Linked DNA regions of Homo sapiens: regions 1 and 2 are each linked to region 3. Evidence: promoter capture Hi-C in 16 types of primary human blood cells and fetal thymus (Javierre and others, 2016). All regions are on one chromosome and are shown on one strand. The core of a region is centred on a gene start or on the middle of the fragment in contact, and the rest is flanking DNA. Distances in the headings are between cores, read along the strand shown. Region 1 overlaps RAPGEF1 (Rap guanine nucleotide exchange factor 1). Region 2 holds the start of LOC105376300 (a long non-coding RNA gene). Region 3 holds the start of POMT1 (protein O-mannosyltransferase 1).

Region 1 (3,548 bases), core at 90-2,589, 230 kb after region 3:
ACATCAGCTACTACTATTATTTGTATTTATTATTGAAAGGAGGGGTTGAGAGTAGCCAATTCCATGACTCATGAACAATCATCCATCTATTTATTCAGAACCATCACTTGAAGGAGGATGGGCGCATGTGATAACCAGCAAATAAATACAACCACTGTTTCCAACCAGGGGTTTTGTTTGTTTGCTCGTTTGGGGTCAGCTAAGTGGCTATTTAACACGGTCACATTCCACTGGATGTCAGCTGTCCTCTCTTCTCATTCCATGTCCTTCCTTCTCTCAGTTACTGTCAGTGTCACACTCCTGCTCCGTTTTTAACAATACAGTGTGTGGCTGGGAATCGCATCTGTCAGGTCCACATCAGTGGCACAAATTTTAAAAGCTATAGAGCAAATGCCTGAAATCCGCCCCTCTGAACCCAGCCCTGGGCAAACCACACAGCATCCTGTGCTCAGTGCTCCATTTCTACGCTTTAAAAGCACTGCAGAATCGCCTGATCACAAAACTTAATATGCAGTAAAGTCACTGTGTGGTTTGGGCAAGCCAGTGAAAAGCAAAGAGAAAGCTGCTGCTAAGGGACTGTGGGGACAGAAGTCTAAGCTGTTACAGGAGTCGTGGTGTTCCGGGAAGCAGCAGTCCAGACTGCAGGGTGGGACTTGGGTTCAGAGAATTGTCACCTGTCTTTCAAACTACAGCCTGGGAGAAGAAAGTGGGAGAAAGGAATTGTGACCAGCAGACAGCAGATTTCTAATAAATTCAGATGAACCTCCCCCCCTGTACCTTAGCTCACAGAGGAGGGGGAAGTAGCAAGAAAATACTGCCCATGCCTCTTGACAAAGAAGGAAGGGGGTGCCAGAGGCACACCAACAGCCTGCACCCCAGCCCTAGACAGCACACGCTGCACAGTCATCCTGGGAAAAGAGAGTAATGCTGCAGGAAGCCAGTCCTAAATCACATTCAAAGGCCAACTGAAAAAAAAAAAAATAACAAGTAGGGACAGGGATTCCTGGGATGGTGCTCATTATGGGTGTCAGGCTGAGTAGAGCTGGCACAGGCCTTGGTTTGTAAACACAGGGCAGAACGAGCATTACCTAAGAGCGCTTTGCTCCTGCACATCCCAAAGAACCAGGCAGTCACTACAAGTGGAAGCTCAAAGAACATGCACTCAAGTGGAAGCTCAAAGAACGTGCACTCAAGTGGAAGCTCAAAGAACGTGCACTGACCAATGGATGCGGCATCAGAACCGAGTGGCGGCTCAGCCTTCACGGTGTCCTGGCGTTCTCCCAGTGGTGTTCTGGGAATTTGATCCTAACCTCATCATTAGTGTTCAGAGGACTACAGGAAAACACAGAACCCCCAACTAACTGCACACCACTGATCAGATATTGGTCCTACTAATGTACCAAGAAACATCCTAATTGGCAATTTGAAACCACAATAAGCTACGTCTAAAGATAATTTGAGACTTGGAACCAGAAACTAAAATTCATTCTATGATAATATTAACTAAATTCACTCATTCTTTTAGTAAGTATTTACTGAGCACCTATTGCGTTCAAGGCACCGTAATGGCACCGCAGTGGTAGACACACTCCCTCACGGAGCTAATCATCTGTTTAACATTTCACTTGTTGATTTTTTAACTTGCAGAAAGGAAACTGGGGCTTTGATTTTGAATGAGTGAAACATCATTCTACTCAAGCATTGATCTGGGGCATTTCCATGGAATTTACTATATGTTAGAGGAAGAGAAGGCACAAAGAGCCCAGAGGAAGTTGATTTTGGTAGAGGCAGCTGTGAGAGCATCGAGGAAGTGGGTTTTCACATTGTGTTTGGGGTGGAGGGTCCAAGGAGGAGCCTCGGCCACAGCTAAGCAGGAAGGACTGCATTCAAAGAGGCTTCCCCATTAGTGGTTACCTAATGGCCTTCTTATGTATAAAAAAGGGCCTGCAGTCACGCATGCGGGGCTTCAAACCTAGATGACGGGTTGATAGGTGCAGCAAACCGCCACGGCACATGTATACCTATGTAACAAACCTGAACGTTCAGCACATGTATTCCAGAACTTAAAATTTAAAAAAGCCGGGGCGGGGGCGGGGGGGGGGGTGGTGCGGGGTTGGCGGGGGCAGTGGCTACAGCTTAAAAACACAAACAGAGGAGCGCTCCTTTTGAGTCCCACTCCTTCCTGGCACTGATGGGGAAAATAAGCCCCAGGAAAGGGTAAGAATCACCCAAGGACACAACTAAGATGTTCTCAAACAGATGACCAGAAACTAAGATGACTGGCCTGCTGGATGACAGATCCCTTAATAATTCACAAACGGTGGGTTTTATTTATTTACTCATAAAACAGCCTTTGGGGCAAGACGGGTGACGAGTCAGAGGAACACCTGTCCCGGCGGCGAGGCGGCCGCGGGGTGGGGCAGGCGGTGGGTTGTCAGGCCTCTCCTCTTTCCAGAGCGTGATCTTATCCTGGCCATGGGGAACACGCTCAGCTGGCCTGAGGTAAGACCCAGCCTGGCACTCAAGGCAATCTCCAATCCGGGCTACTTTGGGAGACATTTTTCTGCAAGCTCACACATGACTCATCTCTACAGACCTCCTATAAGGTCTCTTGGCTACAAGGAATCCCATTCAAACCGCCTCTGCCAACAGCTGCTCTGGAGACCAGGAAACATTTGGGGTTGCTGTGGTTGATTTTTCTAAAAACACACTTAGCTGGCATTAGTGCTATTTCTTATCTCTCTACAGCACTGTTAATGTGACTAGTATTACGAGTATCAGACGCAGTCTAAAGACTGTAGTGAGCCTCCCTTAATTTCATTGGTAGATCTTTTTTTTCAAAGATCAGAAAAGAGATTGAGAAGCCTGAAGAATTAAGATGGAAAGCTGTGTCCCCAGCAACCAGGGAGGCTCTAACCAGTGCTCTATAAAGGCAAGAAAGGGGGCCGGTTCCCCATTCCACTTCTCCAGGGCATGACCTTGGGCAAACAACCAAATTTCCCTGGGCCTTAGCTGCCCTGAGGGGCAAAAGAGGGATACTCCGCCCTGCCCTCACCCCCTGGGCTGTTGTGAGGATGAAATGAAATGAGGTAGTCTATAAATGCATTCTGAAAACCACAGGAAATTGCAGAGATGTTCAAGATCGTTCTGATTCTACCCCTGGACTGTGGCCTCCAGGGACAGGTTCCTGCTGGCTCCCTGCCACGAGGCATCACTTGGTGTTTGCCAACAAGGAGGCACTCAGTAAGTGTTAAAACGGGTGAGTGAAAGGAGGCAGAGCAGGTGCCATCAAAATGTCTCATTGCTTGACTGAGTATACTTTGACGACAAAAATTCCTAACTATGGAGGAAAAAGGAAGTACAAATTTGACGAGTTTAAAATTGATCGAAATACAATGACTGCCAATCTAAGAGGACCTCTTTCTCAGGCCACAAAAATGAGTAGCCCTACATCATAGGGCCTGTACTCTTAGTATCTGTTCTGAGAAAATATATCATGACAAAAATGTGACCATGAAATGCAGTCATTATAAATTTCTTTTCGATTT
Region 2 (3,657 bases), core at 671-3,170, 150 kb before region 3:
GGGGGGCGCTGCGGGCCAAACAGCCATACTCGGTGTCCTCTCCCCCACAGCCCTTGCTCTCCCTTCCCCTCTCTCAACCCTCCCAAACCCCTCACACCTGCCCCTCTGCCTCCCTCATCCCCCAACCCTCTTGGCCTCTTCACCTGCTCCTGAACAGCACAGCAAGCTCCAGGGAGGCTGGGCGGCAGCAGGCTCCCTGGAAAATGGGAGGGGGCTGGGCACACTGGTTCATGTCTGTAATCCCAGAGCTTTTGGAGGCCGAGAAGGGAGGAGTGTTTGAGCCCAGGAGATGGAGGCCAGCCTGGGCAACATAGGGAGACCCCGCCACCCCCATCTCTACAAAAAATTTAAAAATAACCCAGGCGTGGTGGTGCACACCTGTAGCCCCAGCTACTTAGGAGGCTGAGGTGGGAGGATCACTTGAGGCCTGGGAGTTTGAGGCTGCAGTGAGCCAAAATTGCACCACTGCACTCCAGCCTGGGCAACAGAGCAAGACCCTGTCTCACATACACACAACAAAAAAGTGACTAGTGTGATAGAGGAAGTGAGTCCTCAATTTTAGTTGTTATTAATTAGAATTAATTAGCTAGCAGCTTCTGGATGGGACAGTGCAGCTCTAGAGGCTTCATCAGACTCAGGTTTACTTTCTGGGTGAGACAACCCCATGGGCGGGGTGTGCTGCATTCAGGTAGGAAGCCTGAGCCCTGAGCCCAAGCCCAGGCTCGAGGGCTGAGTGAAGGTCTACATCCCTGAGGATGTGTGGCCTTTCTGGCGCCACCTGCTCCTCCTGGAGTCTGAGGCTTTCTGCTCTTCCAGCCTGGGGGTGCCAGGCTGCTAGGGGTGGCACCTTTCCCTCCCCAGGAAAAGATGCAAAATCCCCTGATGGCACAGGCAGCCCCTCCCCAGAATGGACGGGATGGAAAGGGGACAAGTGGCAATGGCCCCAAACCAGGACCTCAGCTCATGGGTTCCCGGGTCCCTGGGGAAAGGGCTGAGGTCCTTCCTGCACTCAGCAAACAGGAACTGCGCGCTGAGCACCCAGCTGGAAATCAGCCATGGACAGGACAGACCTCTTCCCTCCCCCAACAAGCTCACGGTCTAGCCGAGGAGACTCATGTTGAAACATATAAATGGCCACTTCGCCAGGTCATAGCCATGGTAGTGGGGCTCGGAAGGAGAAGCCCATGGCGTTATGAGGGCGTGTGGAGCGGCGGTCGCCAAGGAGGGCTTCCCTGGGGGAGTGACAGTGAAGCAGAGCCCCCAGACCTGAGCGGGACTTGACCAGAAAGGAGGGAGGAAGAGTGTGGCCGGCAGAGGGAGCTGCGAGTGCAAGGCTGACAGGCAGGAAGGCCCGGGCGCTTGCAGGGAGATGCAAGTCTGAGGACGATGGCCCGGCTACGGCTGTTCCGCTGGGGCTGTTCCTGCTCTCCTTCCGCCCTGGGGGAGATGTTCCAATTCTACCCGGCGCTCCCCAGTCCGTGGACTCAGTCTTTCCTTGTGGGCTCCATTTCCCAGCTTCTAATCTCTCTGCGGCTCAACCCCTCTTCCCCTCTGTGTAGCCATGAGGCCCGGAGCCACCCCAAGAGCAGCCTTGGAGGCCTGATTGAGACAGCATCACCCCATCCCTGAGCCCAGAGCATGGAGAAAGCTTAGGTCACGGTGGAGCCTTTCTTGTTTTTTGTTTGCTTGTTGTTTGTTTGTTTGTTTGTTTGTGACGGAGTCTCGCTCTGTCGCCCAGGCTGGAGTGCAGTGGCGCGATCTCGGCTCACTGCAAGCTCCTCCTCCCGGGTTCACGCCTTTCTCCCGCCTCAGCCTCCCGAGTAGCTGGGACTACAGGCGCCCACTACCACGCCCACGCCCGGCTAATTTTTTTTTTTTTTGCATTTTTAGTAGAGACGGGGTTTCACCCTATTAGCCAGGATGGTCTCGATTTCCTGACCTCGTGATCCGCCCGCCTCGGCCTCCCAAAGTGCTGGGATTACGGGCGTGAGCCACTGCGCCCGGCCACGGTGGAGCCTTTCATGGAAAGGCCCGGGAAACAAACTATGACTCAGGCCAGGGACAGGGCTGGTCCTTATCGACTGCTTCACCCCCAGCCTGAAAGAGTGTGGTCAGAGGCTGGCACCACTGTGGCTGGGGACGTCCTGATTTCTCCCCTGCAGAATGTGGTTATTCTGGCGCTGGGGTGGCCCTGAAGCTTAGCTATGAGGGAAGCCTGTTCTTAGATACCCCAGCCTTGGGAGAGAAGAGCTGTGTACTGCCGCTGATAATGAACAGTGGCTGGCCGGGCATGGTGGCTCAGGCCTGTAATCCCAGCACTTTAGGAGGCCCAGGAGGAGTTTGGAAAACTGCTTGACCCCAGGAGTTGGAGGCTGCAGTGAGCCATGATCGTGCAACTGCACTCCAGCCTGGTCCACAGAGCAAGATCCTGCCTCAAAAAAAAAAAAAAAATTCTTTCTTGGCCGGGCATGGTGGCTCATGCTTGTAATCCCAGGACTTTGGAAGGCTAAGATTAGAGGATTCCTTTGAGACCAGCCTGGGCAACATAATAAGACCCTGTCTGTATGTGAAAAATTTTAAAAACTTAAAAAAAAAAAAGTCTTTCTTCAATAATAAATTAACCCTTAATGTAACTTTTAAAATTTTTACTTTATAAACTTTTTTGAACTTTTTCACTCTTACAATAATGCTTAGTTTATAATGCAAATATATTGCATAGCTGTACAAAAATATTTTCTTTATATCCTTATTCTATAATCTTTTTTCTATTTTTAAAATTTCTTATTTTTTATTTTTTTACTTTTATTTTTTATTTTTATTTATTTATTTATTTTGAGACGGAGTCTCGCTCTGTCACCAGGCTGGAGTGCAGTGGCGTGATCTTGGCTCACTGCAACCTCCAACTCCCAGGTCCAAGTGATTCTCCTGCCTCAGCCTCCTGAGTAGTTGGAATTACAGGCACGCGCCATCACACCCGCCTAATTTTTGTATTTTTATTAGAGACGGGGTTTCACCATGTTGGCCAGGATGGTCTCAATCTCCTGACCTTGTGATCCAACCACCTCAACCTCCCAAAGTGCTGGGATTACAGGTGTGAGCCACCATACCTGGCCTATTTTTTTACTTTTAAAAGTTTTTTGTTAAAAACTGAGACACAAGCCAGGTGAGGTAAGATATGCCTGCAGTCCCACCTACGGGAGGCTGAGGCAAGGGGATGACCTGAACCCAGTCTGGGCAACACAGTGAGGCCCTGTCTCTTATTTAAACAAAACAAAACAAAGACATTAGCACACACATGAGCCTAGGCCTACACAGGGATAGAATCATCAGTATCACTGTTGTCCACCTCCACATCTTGACCACCTAGAAGGTTTTCAGGGGCAATAACATGCATGAAGCTGAGATATGTGATAATAATGCCAGTGGGCTTGGTGGCTCATGCCTGTAATCCCAGCCCTTTGGGAGGCTAAGGTGGGCAGATCACTTGAGCCCAGGAGTTCAACACCAGCCTGGGCAACATGGCAAGACCCCGTCTCTACCAAAAAATACAAAAAGTTAGCCAGGTGTGGGGGCTTGCACCTGTAGTCCCAGCTACTTGGGAGGCTGAGGTGGGAGGATCGCCTGAGAGTAGGAGGCGGAGGTTGCGGTGAGCTGAGA
Region 3 (3,597 bases), core at 232-2,731:
AGCGAGGCTGAGAAGAGTGATCCATCAGCCTGGTTGCGTTGCTGTCAGTTACCCTGCTCTGGGTGCCGACTGTTCAGGGAAAACATGGGAAGGGGTGCATTGACCCAACCAAAAGTACCATGTCTGCTCCAAAGCAGGCCTTTGGGAAGGCTCTTGACCCTCAGCAGAGGGGGCTGGAGAGGCTGATGGATGAGGAGGAGCCCTGGGAATGGAGGAAGAAGCCTCCAGTCTTCTGCCACGGAGTTTAGGGGAGATGCCCCCACTGGAGCCTCTGATGGTCATGCAGCCCCCACTGATGTCCAGGTTTTTTTGGTTTTGTTTTTTGTTTTGAGACGGTCTCACTTTGTAGTCCAGGCTGGAGTGCAGTGGTGAGACCAAGGCTCACTGCAGCCTCGACCTCTCTGCCCCAAGTGATCTCCTGCCTCAGCCTCCCTTGTAGCTGGGACTGCAGGCAGACGCCAAGGGGCCCCGCTAATTTTTGTATTTTTTTGTAGAGACGGGGTCTCGCTGTGTTGCCCAGGCTCTCCTGGACTCAAGCGGGCTCACGGATCCTCCCACCTCGGCCACCCAAAGTGCTGGGGTTACAGGCGTGAGCCACCGCCCCCGGCCCTAGGTCCGTTTTAAATGCCCTTACCCTCAGCCACTTCACCGCTAGATGTATGTGCAAGCAGGATCGTGGCATCGATGTTTTTCGGCAAGGAAACTAGGAGCGCCCGCGGGCGTGGGGGCACGTGCCTGTGGTCTCAGCTGCTCTGGAGGCCGAGGAGGGAGGATCGCTTCGGGCAGAGAGGTCGAGGCTGCAGCAAGCCGTGGTCCTGCCACTGTACTCCAGCCTGGGCGACAGAGCGAGACCCCGTGTCTTAAAAAAAAAATTAAGGTCGGACGCAGTGGCTCACGCCTGTAATCCCAGCACTTTGGGAGGCCGAGGTGGGCGGATCACTTCAGGTCAGGAGTTCGAGACCAGCCTGGCCAACATGGTGAAACCCTGTCTCTACTACAAATACAAAAATTAACCGGGCGTGGTGGCGTGCGCCTTCAATCTCAGCTACTCGGGAGGCTGAGGCAGGAGAATCGCTTGAACCCGGGAAGCGGAGGTTGCGGTGAGCCGAGATCGCGCCATTGCACTCCAGCCTGGGCAACAAGAGCGAAACTCCGTCTCAAAAAAAAAGAAAAGAAAAGAAAAGAAAAAAACTAGGAGCAAACTGGCGCGCCCGGCAGAACGCCGTTGTGCAGACGCAGAATTAAGATCTTCACGCCAGATGGAGTGAAAAAGCAAGGAGCAGAAGATGGGTGGGAGCCCACTGCGCTTTTTAAAATCTGCACGTCTGCTTAGAGTACACAGAAATCCTGGCACACAAAACAGTAGCACCCGAGAGAGGGGAGGTCGCCGCGTTTCACACCTGCCTCTCCTCCGGGACCGGCGCCCTCGCCCGCTGCGCACGCGCGTCACCCTCTCCCAGTGCGCACGCGCGCTGCTGCCCGTCTGGCCCCGCAGGCTCGGTGAATCGAACGTTGAGCAGGGCGGTGGGTGGTGCGGAGTGCCGAGCGGCCTCACCCCCAACCGTCGGCCCAGTCGGACGGTTCCGAGGCGTTGCCGGGAGCCGGGCGCGGCTCTGTGTGGACTCGGAGAAACGCGGGTACATTTGGGGACACCGGGGACGAGAGCCCAGCCCGGACTTGGGGGAGTCCGTCAGTGCCGGACGCGGGTCCCTGGCTTGCGGACGGGCTGGGGCCGGGGGCGTCCCCGTCTTTCCGGAGCTGGGGGCGGGGTTCGGGCCCGGGCAGATGCGGCGTTCGGGCGGCCGAGCCCCGAAGTAAGAACTCCGTGGCGCGTGCAGCCCTAGGGAGGAAGGGCGTGCTGCGGGTGCAGTCTCAGGGTGAGGACGGAGCTGGGGCCGACGCAGCCTCGGGAGTTGGTGGACGGGACAGGTGCGGCCTGTGGGGAAGAAGGGCCGGCCAGGGAGATGCGGTCTGCAAGGGGAGAGGAGGCACTCCCAGGACAGATGGGACCTTTTGGGACGAAGGCGCTCAAGGCAGATGCAGCTCAGGGAGGGAAGGGCGCGTCCAGGGTAGATGGGGCCTGAGGAGACCAGCGGGGCGCCAACGGCCAGATGCGGCTTTGGTGTGAGACAGGGTGTCCCAGGCCTGATGCAGCCTCAAGAGAAGCGGAGCTCAAGGGAAGATGAAGCCTGGAGGAGAACGTGGGGGCGCAGGGTGCAAATGCACCCTCCAGGCGAGAAAGGGAGCACCCGGGGATGATGTGCCGCTGGGATAGAAGGCAGGGAGGCACTGGGGGCAGATGCATCCTTGAGGAGAGATGAGGAGGCCCCGAGGCTCGGCCAGGTTGGGGTCCCTGGGCTGTAAGCAGCTGAGATGGCACCCAGGAGCTGCCCAGGGTCAGGTAGCTGTGGCCGCACTGTGGGCTTCTGGTCGTCGGGGAGGGAGGGGAGAAACCCTGGCGTTCCTTAGCAGTGTTCTCGCGCCCAAGACGTGCTCGGCAGGTTTTGTGGAATGAGTTGTTGAAAGGAGTGAATGTCCAGTCCTGAGATCCCCTGAATTCCCACCCGAGTTCACTGCTAGTGCCCCTCACCCCACATGTCTACCTGAACCAAGGCTCCAGGAACTTCGGTCTTTCTCAGCAGCCCGGCTGTGCTGTGGTTCTCCTCGTGTGTCCGGGAGCCGGGTGGCTGGGGATCCCTTCTGTAGCCTCTCGTGAGCCCTCATGGACCACGGCTCCTCCCTTCTTTTCTAGGGCGTCTGCCTGAGCCCGCTTTTCTACAAGATGTGGGGATTTTTGAAGCGCCCTGTAGTGGTGACGGCTGACATCAACTTGAGCCTTGTGGCCCTGACTGGGATGGGGTTACTGAGCCGGCTGTGGCGACTCACCTACCCGCGGGCTGTGGTGTAAGCTAAATGACTCCATTCCCAGGGTGAATCTAGAATTGTACTTTGTGACAGGAGGCGCCCTTACTGAATAGCATAAATGGGAGAGTGAAATCCTGGCTTCTTGGTGATAGGTGTTTTTGGCAGTGAGAGGAGAGACCAGTCTGTCCCCAGGACAGCCCCAGCAGAGTACACCTTTTAGGTCTTGCCTTCTGAGTCTGTAACAGGTGAAATTTGGCCCATTAAAGGGGTGCAGTAGAGGAAAATCTGGTTGCCAGCCTTAAGTAACAGTTTTAAAGTCTGGACGGCAGAGGATTAATGGATTTGGAAGTAAGTCTTCACTGTTGAGAGCACTTTTTAGAATGTGTTTTTGTCATAATGGGAAGTGATTGCTGTTATTATTGAAGGGCTCTTTATTAACTGATTAATGTGTGTATGTGTGTGTGTGTGTGTGTGTGTGTGTGTGTGTGTGTTTTTGAGACGGAGTCTTGCTGTGTCGCCCAGGTTGGAGTGCAGTGGTGCCATCTCGGCTCACTGCAACCTCTGCCTCCTGGGTTCAAGCAATTCTCTGCCTCAGCCTCCCGAGTAGCTGAGATTACAGGTGCCCGCCACCACACCCAGCTAATTTTTGTATTTTTAGTAGAGACGGGATTTCACCATCTTGGCCAGGCTGGTATTGAACTCCTGACCTCATGATCCACCCACCTGGGTCTC

The links. The method cuts DNA at HindIII sites, captures the fragments that hold promoters and counts their contacts. A CHiCAGO score of 5 or more calls a contact.
Region 1: a contact is called between a fragment that was not itself captured here and the fragment with the promoter of POMT1 in region 3, in 1 of 17 cell types (neutrophils). The highest score is 5.9, in neutrophils.
Region 2: a contact is called between a fragment that was not itself captured here and the fragment with the promoter of POMT1 in region 3, in 1 of 17 cell types (non-activated CD4 T cells). The highest score is 6.1, in non-activated CD4 T cells.

What each region holds. Positions count from the first base shown.
Region 1 is chr9:131,731,274-131,734,821 of GRCh38, forward strand. All of the region lies in intron 1 of RAPGEF1 (Rap guanine nucleotide exchange factor 1), which reads right to left. Among named protein-coding and RNA genes, the nearest start is that of RAPGEF1, 7.0 kb to the right of the region's middle. RefSeq lists silencers at 1,883-1,932, 2,309-2,603. The HindIII fragment of the contact is 9,723 bases long and covers 1-3,548 here.
Region 2 is chr9:131,348,905-131,352,561 of GRCh38, forward strand. All of the region lies in intron 3 of LOC105376299 (a long non-coding RNA gene), which reads left to right. LOC105376300 (a long non-coding RNA gene) reads right to left here and starts at 1,527. Exons shown (of 4, transcript XR_930401.3): 1 at 1,267-1,527; 2 at 144-248. RefSeq lists an enhancer at 3,196-3,657. The HindIII fragment of the contact is 549 bases long and covers 1,647-2,195 here.
Region 3 is chr9:131,501,437-131,505,033 of GRCh38, forward strand. POMT1 (protein O-mannosyltransferase 1) reads left to right here and starts at 1,482. Exons shown (of 20, transcript NM_001077365.2): 1 at 1,482-1,637; 2 at 2,753-2,904. The coding sequence starts at 2,783. RefSeq lists enhancers at 1,268-2,135, 2,136-3,001, 2,373-2,432, 2,913-2,992, 3,003-3,072 and silencers at 1,383-1,582, 1,653-1,802. The HindIII fragment of the contact is 12,581 bases long and covers 1-3,597 here.